2 separate regions of the Homo sapiens genome follow, and region 1 is linked to region 2. The links are contacts of gene promoters, found by promoter capture Hi-C in human tissues and cell types (Jung and others, 2019). All regions are on one chromosome and are shown on one strand. Each heading gives the region's core, a stretch centred on a gene start or on the middle of the fragment in contact. The rest is flanking DNA. Distances are from core to core; before and after follow the strand shown. Region 1 overlaps ATP13A4 (ATPase 13A4). Region 2 holds the start of MB21D2 (Mab-21 domain containing 2).

Region 1 (4,199 bases), core at 900-3,399, 630 kb before region 2:
TATAGGGTCCTCAGGCCCATGGAAGACAGAGCACAGGAACTTGAGTTGGCACTTTGGTGAGGGAGTTAGTCATTTGCCGATGGATCCAGAAGAGATTCATTTTGGGTGCCCATTTCAAGGCTTTGTGAAGACTAGACAGAGTAGGTTGACTTGACAAATTGGCTCATAGCTACTTCTGAGTGCCCTTCATATAAACCTTGGTAAGCTGCCTGAAACCACAGGCTGGGTAGAGTTGAAAGGCAGCTCAGAATACCATCTCCTCAACTTTTCCCTCAGCCTAAGGCTATTCTTGTGGACAATGAGTACAGCTGTACCTGAAATGGCCCCTCAGAAAAAGAACAGAGAGGAGGCCCAAATGTCCTGAATGCTTTCCAGAGAAATATAATGTCCTCAGGCCAGGACACTCTGATTTCAGTGGGTACACATGCAGGGCCCTGGCTAAAACTGTAATCACTTCAGCATTTCCAGAATCTGTTGCCTTCTTGGGGGAACTATGGCTGAAGGATTTTGAAACTCTGGTACTTGAGTTTCAGAATCAGTACTTAGAAGATAATATTGTGAAAAATGCTTCATGTTTTGAGGCCAGTTCTAAAACAAAACTATCCAAGAATTAAGTTTGGGTAGATGGAGAGATCTGAGACTATCTTATTTCATGTTTATATTTAACATGTCACATTGACTTTATTTGATATATTTCTGATGAGATGAATTGAAAAATGTGTGCATATATTATGAGTTTCTCTCTTCTCTCCTGACTCAAGTGGGTTGTTAACCTCAATCTTACAAAAGGAGGCACTGAGAAACTATATAATATACCCAAATCTGGCATCTAAGAAGCAAAAAAAACAGAAATTAAGCATAGGCAGATTGACTTCAAACCTTCTGCTCATATCTCAGTGTACTTTATGCTTTTGATGTAGCCTGTTATTACCAGTACCAGTACTAGTACTGCTACATAAGCCCCACACAGTACTTATTAGTTTAGCAGTTATTTTATACTTTGGGCTTATTTTGAACTTGTGAGAAACAAAACCTCCAGATCCCTTTTTGTATAAGTCTTAAATCTCTGATCTTTTGGGCTTAGAAGTGATTAGGATCACAGGTGTTGAAATCAAATCATCTGGATACTCCTTCACTTTTTCGTCATCTATGCATTCCTGTATTGTAGAAGTGGTCTCTCTTTGTGCTCCTGTTTCTCTCCCAGTGGTATCCTCCTGGGCTTATGACTCAGTGCTAGGCTTGTAGTAGAGGTAGACAGGGTTATCTGTTGCACTTGTCCAGACTTAGTCTTAGGTAATCCCTTTGTATCTTAGCTTCAGGGAGTAGTGCTTTGTCAATATTCATATTCTCCCTCTCTGTGGCAGCCAAATCTGTCTTATACTTGTAGTTTTCTTAGGTGAGAGTTTCTTGCTTCTCCACTAGCTATTAATTTCATTTGATTTTAATGTAGAATCCTGGTTTCAGAATAGTGAATGGTAAAAGTTTTTGCCTTTATCCTTCATCCGGCTTCAATTGATTTTTGCTTGTGTCCTGGCAGATGGTTTCTTACTTAGAAGTAATTGGCCTTTGTCAGTTACTATCTCATTCCAGAAGCTTAAATAGTAGGAGAGAAGAGTCCAGAGAAGTAAGAGGGAAGTTGAGCCTGTCTCCTGGAGCCATTAGTCACCTCCTTCAGACCTATGCTGCCAAAGGGAGCTCTCTCTGATGTCCTCCTCTGCCCCCAGTCTGTCTGATGAACACCAACTGATGCTTGGGAAGAAGAGTTTCTGAGTGGATGCCAGCCTCTTTCTGAGTCTCAGACCTTTAGATATTCAAGCTAAACTGATGCTGTAGTCCAAACTTGGACTTTATAAATTTGTTAAAATTTTAGCTCATTTCTTCTTATCACTCATATGGCCAACATCACTTTCATGAGATGCAAAAGGTAAAAACATTGTTTTAACCTGTTTCTTTTTGGAAGAACTTGTTCTTTGGAATTTGGTTTACTTGATTTCCTTGAAACCTTAGCTATCTGATGAGTTCAAGAAAATTTATGACTTCGTGGATTATCTCTATTTTTTCCTGGTTGTTAGGGGGAGTGTGATGTTCTTTGTAGCATTCTACATTCAGAAGCAAAAATCCTCAAGAGAGACTTTTGAAAATCAGATAAAGTGTGTGTTAATGATTGTCCTAACCAGTTGGTTAAGATCGGCTATCAAAAGACTATATGAGGTTGGTTTGGCAAGACTAGTTTAGTGTTGCTTACTTATTCTTAGTGGTTTCTGCATTCTTTTCCATGTGCCCATTTGCCAATGGGGTTGTTTGTTTCTTATAAAAGTTCAAGTTCCTTATAGTTTCTGGATATTAGACCTCTGTCAGATAGACTGCAGACATTTTCATTCAGTCTGTAAATTGTCTGTTCACTCCGATGATGGTTTCTTTTGTTGTGCAGAAGCTCTTTAGCTTAATTAGATCCCATTTATGAATTTTTGCTTTTGTTGCAATTGCTTTTGAAGTTTTTGTCATGAAATCTTTGCCTGTGCCTATGTTTTTAATGGTATTGCCTAGATTTTCTTCTAGGCTTTTTTTTTTTTGAGATGGAGTCTTGCTCTGTTGCCCAGGCTGGAGTGCAGTGGTGCGATCTCAGCTCACTACAAGCTCCGCCTCCTGGGTTCACGCCATTCTCCTGCCTCAGCCTCCCCAGTAGCTGGGACTACAGGCATCCACCACCACACCCGGCTAATTTTTGTTGTATTTTTTAGTAGAGACAGGGTTTCACCATGTTAGCCAGGATGGTCTCGATCTCCTGACCTTGTGATCTGCCCACCTCGGCCTCCCAAAGTGCTGGGATTACAGGCGTGAGCCACCGTGCCTGGCCTCTTCTAGGTTTTTTATAGTTTTGGGTTTTACATTTAAGACTTTAATCCATATTGAGTTAATTTTTGTATAAGGTGTAAGGACAGGGTCCAGTTTCAATTTTCTGCATATGGCTAGCCAGTTTTCCCAGCACCATTTATTAAATAGGGAATCCCTTCCCCATTGCTTGTTTTTGTCAGGTTTGTCAAAGATCAGGTGGACGTAGATGTGTGGTGTACTTTCTGAGATATCTATTCTGTTTCATTGGTGTATGTGTCTGTTTTTGTACCAGTACCATGCTGTTTTGGTTACTGCAGACTTGTAGTATAGTTTGAAGTCAGGTAGCCTGATGCCTCCAGCTTTGTTCTTTTTGCTTAGGATTGTCTTGGCTATGGGGACTCTTTTTTTTTTGGGTACCATATAAATTTTAAAGTAGTTTTTTTCTAATTCTATGAAGAATGTCAATGGCAGTTTAATGGGAATAGCATTGAATCTATAAATTACTTTGGGCAGTGTGGCCATTTTCATGATATTGATTCTTCCTATTCATGAGCATGGAATGTTTTTCCATTTGTTTGTGTCCTCTCTCATTTCCTTGGGCAGAGTTTTCTAATTCTCCTTGAAGAGATTCTTCACTTCCCTTGTTAGCTGTATTCCTAAGTACTTTATTCTCTTTGTAGCAATTGTGAATGGGAGTTCATGATTTGGCTTTCTGCTAGTCTAGTGTTGGTGTATAGGAATGCTTTTGATTTTTGCACATTGATTTTGTATCCTGAGACTTTGCTGAAGTTGTTTATTAGGTTAAGAAGCTTTTGGGCTGAGATGATGGGGTTTTCTAGATATAGGATCATGCCATCTGCAAGCAGAGACAGTATGACTTCCTCTTTTCCTATTTGAATACCCTTTATTTCTTTCTCTTGCCTGATTGCCATGGACACAACTTCCAAGCTGGGTTTTATTGTTATACTTCACAAGGAGCCCTCTGATAACTCTAGGATTACACATCCCCAGGTACCACTTCAAGTGGAAAAAAGAACTTGCCTTTCTTTCAATAGTCTTAGCCAAATACTCTTTCTTCTCACTGGCTCTGACTGAATCATTTTTGCTTTTTAAATTTATTTGTGTGGCCATTGGAATACTATGCTTGTTGTCACATGCCCTCTCCTAGAGTTGGGGTCAGAGTCAACTCTGCATGAAGCACATCAGCTGCAAATAGTGAAGGGTGTAGTTTGCCAGAAGAATATTGGGGTATTGGATACTGTTACTTGGAGTGAGAAAAATGGGGTGGGGTAGTCCAAACAAACAAACAAACAAAGAAAGAAACAGAATTTCCAATCTGATGGTCAGTATATAATCAGTGAACT
Region 2 (4,505 bases), core at 1,406-3,905:
TATCCTCTCAGGATGAGAAGTCAGGGCAGCATAGCAGAGCTGCGAAAGCCAGAGCTTGCTTTGTTTGTTTGTTTGTTTGTTTGTTTGGAGATGGAGTCTCACTCTGTCACCCAGGGTGGAGTACAGTGGCGCGATCTCGGCTCACTGCAACTTCCGCCTCCTGGGTTCAAGCAATTCTCCTGCCTCAGCCTCCCAAGTAGCTGGGACTACAGGTGCACGCCGCCACAACTGGCTAATTTTTTGTATGTTTAGTAGAGATGGGATTTCATCGTGTTACCCAGGCTGGTCTCGAACTCCTGAGCTCAGGCAATCTGCCCGCCTCGGCCTCCAAAGTACTGGGATTAGAGGCGTGAACCACCACGCCCTGCCTAAAAACCAGAGTTTTTAAGTCACTTCCTCATCAGTCCACCAGCATTTATCTAGGCATGGATCCTCTCTCTTTCATACTGAGTGGGTGAGGAAGTGTGTTTCAAAGAGAAGGAAACGAAAAGTAAGAGAAATTAACTGGTTATGCCACAATTCTTCACTCATTACTTGATTCAATAAACATAGAGGACCCTTCGGTAGGACCATATGCTGCAGGAAATACAAAGATGAATAAGATGTAGCCCTCATCCCCAAGAATCTTTTAGTCTAAAACTTGCATTAACAATGATGAAGTGGTCAGGTGTGGTGGCTCACGCCTGTAATCCCTTTGAGAGATCTAGATGCAAGGACTGTTTAATCCCAGGAGGTTGAGGTTGCTGTGAGCCACGATTGTGCCACTGCACTCTGGCCTGGGCTACAGAGGAAGACCCTGTTTCAGAAACAAACAAACACACACACACACAACCCAAAACAAAAAGCAATGATGAAGCAAGGTCAAAATTCATTAGCATCATATGAAAGCTTCTGAGAGTAGGTTCTGAGGAAGGAAAAGTTGCCACCAGCTTGAGGGGAGGGTCTCCGGAAAGCTGTAAGAAAAAGGCAGACGCGGATTGGTTTTGGTGTAAACGGAGTAAAGAAGAGAGGAATTCCAGGGGGAGGTCAGTGGTCAGGTCTGTGTTTTCTAAAGATCACTCTGGCAACAAGTTGTTACTAGATTGAGGAACAGTGAAAGAATTAATAACAATAATAGTAGAAGCTGATAATAGCTAAGTACTTATTATGTCAGTCCTTGAACTAAGTGCTTGACCTGTTTTATCTCACGTAATCCTTAAAACAACCTGTGAGACAGGAATTATTATTCCCATTTTATAGGGGAAGGCATGGAAGAGTCCGTACTTCCTTCCATGTCTAACAAAACAATTTGTATTCTTGGCCATGAGAACTCGGGTAAGAAAGTGAAACAGACCTGATCTAAATCAGGGACTGTGGGATAGAGAAGAGAGATTTTGGAGAATTAGGGAGGAAGATAACCTATGTTTCTCACAGCCAATGGGCCTCCTAAGTGTTTGAATGATACACCCCATAAACACTAAAACCACCTCTGAGACTCTATTCTGCCTAAAGGACTATGACTTAGATTGAACCTGCCTTGTCATGTAAGCCTAACTCCATGGTAGGAGCCATGTCTTTTGGTTATCACTGTCACATTCTGTCACTCCATCTGGCAAATGGTGCGTACTCAAATTTTATCTGTTGAATGAGAAAATTTTCATCTTGTCATCCAACATTTCTTGGAACCTGGGGCAATACATTGTTTCCCCTCTCCCACACCCACACTTCAGTTTCCCTATCTTTATATTAGAGTAGGTTGAATCTCATTAACTCATTATATGTTAAGATAAATAAGCTGTTATTCAGGTCATTAATTACCTTGGGCAAAGGTAGGGATATCTAGGGGTTAGTGGGAGTGCCAATACTGGGTTAGATGTGGACCCTCTTTTTTTATACGCTCAATCCTATCATCTTGGCAATCCAAGAGGAAAAGGGTAGAAGACAGGTTTCATATTCCTTAAGGCAGTTTCCTTTACTATTTAAAGGTATTGGAGTTCTTGGGATAGAGAGGTAAACGCGCACAGAGATGTCCTCCCCCAGGACACCGCCCTTAAAATCAAACGGAGGAAGACTTTCTTCTCCTTGAATGCGCTTGGCAAACCCTGCCCAGAAAGGGGATGGGGGGACGGCCGTGGAGGTGGAGAAAGAATGCATCCACACCTCGCGCGTCTTCCCAAGTACGGATTGGCAAGTGGTATATGCGTGCAGACCTCTGTCATTTATTTATTTTCCTTTCCACTGGGTGCGCTGTCCCTTTAAATGGAGACGCTGGTGCTGGCTCCGTAACACCGGAGCCGGCAGCTTGTTGATTTCAGAGCTGGTGAATTTCACATTGTTTCCACTTCACTTTCCTCGCCCGGGGGAGGCTCCAGTTGGCTCTACGACCGCCGTTGCCGCTGCCAGAGAGGGCCAGGGCAGGGCAGGGACGCGCAGCATCGGGGCGGGCGTGGGGCCGGAGAAAAGGGTGTCGGGGCCACACACGCACCCTCGCTGCAGTCCAGCTCCTCCCGAAGCTCGCACGCCCAGAGCGCACGGAGCGGGGGACTGCCCGCCCAGACGCCCGCCCGCCAACCCGCCCACGAGCCGGGGCCAAAGCCTGGGAGCCTGCGAGGGGAGGAGGCCCAGGGGGGCGGGGTGGGGGGCGGGGGTGGGTGCCGCGCTGCCGCGGAGCTGCTACTCGGCGCGTTTTGCATGAAGATGGCGGCTCCCACCGCCAACAAGGCAGCCTCCCTGGGCTGTAACAACAAGCCTGCGTTCCCGGAGCTGGATTTCAGGTCGGGAGCTCGGGTGGAGGAATTGAACAAACTCATCCAAGAATTTACGAAGCACGACCAGCGGGAATACGACGACCAGAGAGCGCTGGAGATTCACACAGCCAAGGATTTCATCTTTTCCATGCTGGGTAAGGAGGAAAAAGGGGGAGGTGTGTGTGCGTGTGTGTGTGTGATGGGAAGCGGAGTAGAAAACCCATTGCCGCTTCTCGACCTCTTCCCTTCTGGGTTGCCTTCCCGAGCCGGTGCCTTGGGTATAAGCCATCTCTGTTCCGCCTCTCTCTTCTTTCTCCGCCGAAAGCCGAGCTGCCTGCCCTCCCCTCCTTACTATACTTTACGCCGGGTCTCCCTTTCCCCCTGTTCGCTTGCTCTTTTGTTAATTTCTCCGCCACCTGGGGCTGGCAGGCAGGTGAGGCGTTCGCGGTGAAGCGTTGCACTGTTGGGGGAAGCCCCTGGAAGCGAGTGCAGTCCAGGTGAGCCCCTGAGGTGCCTTCAGTTGAGGGATTTGGCTGCCGGAGGCAGGGACCTCCGCTTTCCCGACGCCGGCTCTTGGGTGCTCTCCCGAGCTTGGGAGCGGAGACGGCTCAGGGCTCTGGCTTGGCGCCCGAGCGACAAGTTGCTTCTGTCGTCTCGCGGCGCGGCGCTGTCATGCCGAGCCCCCGGTGGCCAAACTTGTTGGGTGTTCCCGAGTAACCCGCTGAAGTAGTCTAGGCGTCCGGAGTTCCTGCAACTTTGATTTGCAAATTGACTTCTCTTATGAAGCGATCGGAAGCATTTCCGGTGCTTCTTCAGGGCTCTCGCTGAGCTCGGAATTCTTAATTCCCAGCTCTTCCGTGACTAGGCGCGGAGCTCTGGCCGCAGAGGAGCGCCGGTTCCCTGCTCTTTGTGTATTGTCTTAGCGCTGGCCGAAAGAGGTGCCCAGAGTTTCCAACCGCGGAGACGTCGGGGGCTAGAAAATGTGTCCCCCACTCCCACCTCCAGCCCCTCACCTACGGCTCCTGAAACATGATTGAATGCTGTGTAAAGGAACATAATTGAGCCAGGCCCGGGAGACCGAGCCCACCCTCCCCAGGTGTCCTGCCGTTGGGATTATTGCTACTGAGGTGTAGTGTGAGTTTGCCAGGCGCCTGGGTTGTAACTTGCGGCTCCGCCAGCGGATCCGTGGCTGTCAAGCGGTGCGTGGCCGGCGGTCAACATTCCGAAGAACTGGTACTCCAGGGTAGCGCTGCTCTAACGCTCGTCTCTGGGTGCTCTCTACAAATAGATAAGCCAATTTTCCAGGTGTTGAAAAATTTGATTGGGAAAGGTCTTTTGGCCACAGACTAAGACAGGGCTTTTCTCTTTCTCCTGCAATCTAATTGGGTTTCAGCCGGCTGTTGCTGCTTCTATCCTGGGATACCTTCTTCCTTCTAGGTTTTCTTCTTCCTCACTGCCCAAGGACGGGGTAATACAGACTGAACGTGTCTGTGTCCGCTGGTAGTTGTTCACGCGTTGGGAAGTTAGATGAAACATGTTAAAACTCTAGGCTGGTTTTTACCTTTTGCGCCGCACTCTTCAAGTGTGTCTTACGTTGCGTATGAGGTTGAAAAACTATTGAGAGATTCAGCCGTTCAACTATGTAGATGAATAGATGAATTAAATATATATATATATATATATATAAAACCTGGTAGGAGTGAGCTTCCACAGGGAAGCCTAAAATGCTTACAAAGCCAAAAGCCAACACAGTGATTGTCAGGAAGGTGGGGCCACACA

What was found. Contacts are between HindIII fragments. The study calls those that stand out against the background at their distance.
Region 1: a contact is called between a fragment that was not itself captured here and the fragment with the promoter of MB21D2 in region 2, in 1 of the 25 tissues and cell types used here (dorsolateral prefrontal cortex).

Annotation. Positions count from the first base shown.
Region 1 is chr3:193,541,542-193,545,740 of GRCh38, reverse strand. The region is part of intron 1 of ATP13A4 (ATPase 13A4); the gene reads left to right. Among named protein-coding and RNA genes, the nearest start is that of ATP13A4-AS1, 9.6 kb to the left of the region's middle. The HindIII fragment of the contact is 5,057 bases long and covers 1-4,199 here.
Region 2 is chr3:192,916,006-192,920,510 of GRCh38, reverse strand. MB21D2 (Mab-21 domain containing 2) reads left to right here and starts at 2,655. Exons shown (of 2, transcript NM_178496.4): 1 at 2,655-2,881. The coding sequence starts at 2,671. RefSeq lists a silencer at 2,350-2,709 and an enhancer at 3,360-3,689. The HindIII fragment of the contact is 14,649 bases long and covers 1-4,505 here.